Linked DNA regions of Homo sapiens: region 1 is linked to region 2. Evidence: promoter capture Hi-C in 16 types of primary human blood cells and fetal thymus (Javierre and others, 2016). All regions are on one chromosome and are shown on one strand. The core of a region is centred on a gene start or on the middle of the fragment in contact, and the rest is flanking DNA. Distances in the headings are between cores, read along the strand shown.

Region 1 (2,706 bases), core at 176-2,675, 280 kb after region 2:
GCAAAGACATGAATTCAGTGTAGATGCCCATCAATGGTAGACTGGATACAGAAAATGTGGTACATATACACCATGGAATACTATACAGCTGTAAAAAAGAACTAGATCATGTCTTTTGCAGCAACATGGATGCAGCTGGAGGCCATTATCCTAAGCAAACTAACGCAGGTACAGAAAACCAAATACCATATGTTCTCACTTGTAAATGGGAGCTAAATATTGAGTACACATGGACACAAAGAAAGGAACAACAGACACTGGGGCCTACTTGAGGGTGCAGGGTGGGAGGAAGGGGAGGATCAAAAAAACTACCTATCAGGTAGTATGCTTATCATCTAGGTTAGGAAATAATCTGTACACCAAACCCCCACGACATGCACTTTACTTATATAAGAAACTTGCTGCCCAGTGCAGTGGCTCATACCTGTAATCCCAGCACTTTGGAAGGCCAAGGCGGATGGATCACAAGGTCAGGAGATCAAGACCATCCTGGCCAACATGGTGAAACCCTGTCTCTACTAAAAACACAAAAATTAGCCGGGCATGGTGGTGTGCACCTGTAGTCCCAGCTACTCAGGAGGCTGAGGCAGGGGGAATAGCTTAAATCTGGAAGGCAGAGGTTGCAGTGAGCCGAGATCATGCCATTGCACTCCAGCCTGGGTGACAGAGCGAGACTTCATCTCAAAAAAAAAAAAAAAAAAAGGAAAGAAACTTGCACGTGTATCCCTGAAACTAAAAGTTAAACAGTAAAATAAAATAATGGAATTGGAACACACACAACAACAACAAAATAAAATACATTTTGAAAAAGTAATCAAGCTTTCTGTAATCAATGTATTAGACTTGAAATCATCATACTCATCAGTACAAACTCAGCTTAATAGAGACACAGATTGTTACCATGGTCAAATCTGGAACAATTTGAACAATAAAATTAGTAAACTAGTATTGGATTTTAATCTAAAGTATAAAATAAGTATCCAAGAGTCCACAGTGGTATAAGTATATGATTAAATAAATAAATGAGAGAGAAGAGACAAATATCCCATGCAGAAAAATTCCAAATAATGTATGTAGATATTCCACCCTCAATGAGGTGGGTCATAACTCCCCACTCCTTACGTGTCATCTCTAAACAGTGATTTCCTTCCAAACAGTACAAATGGAAAGTGGGGAAATGTAACTTTACGGTGGAGAATCCTGAAAAACACTACCTAAGCTAGATGATCAAAGTAATATCAACAGAGATAAGTTATACTGACAGTATAAACCACCGACACAATATGATTAAAATGGCACTTTACCTCTGTGATCTTCTCCCAAAAACCCGTAACTCCAAATCTAATTATGGGACTAACATCAGAGAAATCCTAATTGAGGAGCGTTCTATAAAATACTTGACAAGTACTTCTCAAAACCGTTAAGATCATCAAAAGCAAAGAAAATCTGAGAAACTATTACAGCTAAAAGGATCCTAAGGAGACATGATGGCTAAATGTAATGTAGTATCCAAAATGGGATCCTGGCACAGAAAGGGGCCATTGGATAAAAACTAAGGAAATAGGAATTAAGTATGGGCTTTCATAATAATAATGTACCAATATCACTTCATTAATTGTAACAAATGTACCACACTTTAGATAGCAGCAACAGGGGAAACTGTGAAATATATAGAAACTTTCCCTACCATCTTAACTTTTTTGTAAATCTAAAACTGTTTTAAAATGAATAGTTCATCTTTATAAAAAGTAAAAAACAAACTGATCTTACCAAGAGCAACTGGCATTAATTTCAATTATATCAACTGAAGTTTAAAAAGTATAAATTTTGATAAACTAACAAATGAGTTTCCAGAAAAGCAGGAAAAAAATTTATGAGAAATCAAGATTACACATTATAAAGTATTATTTCTTTTATGACCTAAAATTAGAACACCAAAAATTGTATTTTTGTAATTTATTAGTTTATATTGTTACCCACATACCATTTTCATCCCTATTATGTTTTATAATATAATAGCTTTTTAAAATTAAAAGCTTAAGGAGCATTGCATTTTCATTTTTCACTACTACCTGAAAATTATTATTTAGCCCCCAGTCAGTTGCAGAGATGTATGCCTATAGTCCCAGCTTCTTGGGAGGCTGAGATGATACGATTCTTGAGCCCAGGAGTTGAAGTCTTGCCTGGGCAACATAAAAAGAACCTGTCCCTTTAATATAATAATAAATAGATAAATAAGATCATCAATGTTATACTTACCTCACCACCACATAGGAAACTGCTTAATAAATGCTACGTATTATTAGTGAGCTACAGTTAGTACCCAGTTACTGATTCTCAAGAATTATTCTTCATAGAATGTATTTAACACCTCAGTTCAATTTTCAACTACTTCATACAAAATCACTTTATACCTAACTGGTGTTACATAGCTGATGGAAGAGATCTGCATACATATTTGCATGTGAAATTAAATATCTGAGAAAAATGAGTGAAGAAGTAGGATTTAAGAGTAGTTTCTGATTTAAATTTGCTGATTTCCAATTATTGCACTGGACACTTTTTAATACATTTCCTTAATTTTTACAAATGCTGTGAAGTACGCACTTTATTCCCATTAAACTGGAGAGCAAACTGAGATCAGGGAGCTTGAATAAACTTCTCAGGTCACAGGATCACAACATGAGTAACAGGATTGAGATTGAA
Region 2 (2,700 bases), core at 60-2,559:
CCCAAATAATATTACACTTATAGATGGTTTAAGAACAATAAAAAATATAATTCATAAACTCACTGCTTTAGTATAACAAACCTGATTAATGTTCTATGTTCTTTATTAGACTTTCTCCCATGTATAGCTTTACAAAGTAGTAGTTGATGAGTAAATACAATTTTGTGATTTGTTTTTTTCACATAAAATAAGAACAAACTCAGTATGTAAATTACTTCATAGGTTTTTAAGCTACTTTAATACATTTCTTGTATCTATTACATGAATATGAAATGATTTTATTTCTTCTATCATTGGAAGCTTAGACAGCTATCCACTTTTCACTCATATATATATATTCAAGTGCATATAACTGTATATATATTTTTATTACTTAAAATGGTTTGACTTTTGATTGAATTTTCCAATGTTCAGGAGATTTAAAATAAATTCAGCTGCACTTATTATAGCTAACACATTGTTCATGCTTTTGTTGATCCTTTCAGCATGACTTATCAGTATCATGTTTTCCTGTAGTCATAGAAAAATAATATGCATAATATATACACTTAAGTGCACACATAAACATACCAAGTTACATAATTATTTCATTGTTTTGAGATGTTAACGTGTGACTTGATTATCTCACAACTTTTTTCTTTCTTTATGTGAAAGTATAGGAAAATACTTATTCATTAACTAAAAAGAAAACCAGAGAGAGATTATTTTCTCTTAAATGTTAGCAAGAACTTTCTTGAAAATAATTCTACAACTATATAAAAAGTAGAAAAATACCGTCTTTACTTTCTAAAAGTGTACTTTAGGATTTATGGCATATTTATTTAATAGCTAGCAATAAAACTGTAATGGAAGTCAAAACACAGAATCCTCGAAAAGTTCCAAACAACACAAGAATTGTTTACTGATTGCAATTTTAAAATCCACACACCACTTTTCGAAATGTTGCACATGAGAAACAAAACCACTTCCTTATTTAAAGATATGTTGTCATAACGCTAAGCTAAGTATTTTTGTGGTTGTTTTATAAAAAATTCAGTTAAGCAACTATGTACCTTATGAAAATAATATCAAGCATATTATCTAAACAATATCTAAGAGTTTCGATGAAGTTTTCAGAGAAGTAACTAGAAGATTGCTAGACACAGTCAAAATTTGCTAAGCTTCTTTATATTTTTCCCATACTGTAAGATATAGTAAAACTTTTAAAGCTACAAAGACAAAAACAGGACTTACCTATACATTTTAATCCTTAATGAAGAGGTTCTTTTTTCTGCCTACTCAACTGCTTTGAGATTCCCACTCAAATGAATGACTCTCATGTATTACGTGTGATCTATAGTTGAGGACAAAGGAGGAAATCTCATGTTAATTAAAATCTAACTTGTTAAACAAGTTTGAGGGAATCAACAAACCAATAGTATGACTTGTGGAAGATAATTGGAAATAGACAGGGAATTTCACAAATTAGTAAGAAATTTATTTATTCTGGTAAATTGAGATTAAACACAATTACAATTGACAGGTATTTTGTGAAAGCCTGTGACTACTTCACAACTGTAGAGTCACTTTTAGTTCAAGAGGATTTGACACTTATTTTGCTCATGTTATCATATTGTTATACACCTCATTCCTCAACACAGCCAGCCAAGATCCATCAGAACATACTTTCCGTACATTAATGGGCACTACCTCTGAATTCCCTCATCTGTATGATTAAATGCAGTTTTTCTCATAATATATGAAACAGAGCATAATTGAGTAGATGCACAAAGTAAGACAAGCAAACAGAATAGTTGGAACTAAAATCCACTTTGTTTTTTTCCAAATATGATCATTTGAAAAAGCTATTCTAACACACTACTACTAGAAGAGGAGCAGACAGAAGAAGACAGTATGAGTGTGTAGGGTGTTAGGGTAAGGATGGAGAGCTCAAGAAAACAGGCAAGACTAGCAGGGAGGGGAAAAAGGGCATTCCTGTCTAACATTGCAAAGAAGCAGGATATAAATTTGGAAGGTTATACTGGGGTTACTTTGTGAGAACTAATGAATGCTAAAGAATTGGAACTTGTAATAGAATTATTACAATATTATTAGTAGTACAATATGAATTCTAGTCTTAGCTTTTTCACCAACTAATTGTGTAGCTTAAGGGAAAAAATTTACTTATTTCTCCATAAGTCACATGTATCTACTAAGAAAAGTGGAAGCTGAATCAGGAGGTCTTAGAGGACTCTCAATTATAAAATTCTATGACTTCATCTTGTAAAGCACTGACAACTAATGGTTAAATTTACTCCAATACTGCAACTTCAGATGTGTTCAGTTACTTGACTTTTTCTATATAATGTGCAAATCAAACAACAGAGACAGGAATAAGTGGTTACTTATATGTTTTTTCCCAAATATATTTGGGAAATATATTTTTTACATACAGTATCTCATGCCTGACATTCTGCCATTGATTTTTTAGCAATAAATAAATAACTATAATAAGATTTAAAAGTTTAAAAAATAAAGTTACCTAAACAAACCATTTTTAAATTTTACATGTTAACTTCAAGTACCTTTAAATATAGTTATATCATGGTATATAATTTTGTATTATGCTTTTTATACTTAATATTATTTCACAAATATATCGCTATTACTAATTTTTATTTTTAGTAGCTATATATTTATAACTTTGTATTTTTATATAAT

The links. The method cuts DNA at HindIII sites, captures the fragments that hold promoters and counts their contacts. A CHiCAGO score of 5 or more calls a contact.
Region 1: a fragment that was not itself captured here is called in contact with the fragment with the promoter of TMPRSS11D in region 2 in 3 of 17 cell types (monocytes, megakaryocytes and endothelial precursors); the score reaches 5.6 in monocytes.

Annotation. Positions count from the first base shown.
Region 1 is chr4:68,163,889-68,166,594 of GRCh38, forward strand. No RefSeq gene overlaps it. Among named protein-coding and RNA genes, the nearest start is that of TMPRSS11F, 35 kb to the left of the region's middle. The HindIII fragment of the contact is 1,217 bases long and covers 818-2,034 here.
Region 2 is chr4:67,882,693-67,885,392 of GRCh38, forward strand. TMPRSS11D (transmembrane serine protease 11D) reads right to left here and starts at 1,310. Exons shown (of 10, transcript NM_004262.3): 1 at 1,234-1,310. The coding sequence starts at 1,241. The HindIII fragment of the contact is 7,558 bases long and covers 1,159-2,700 here.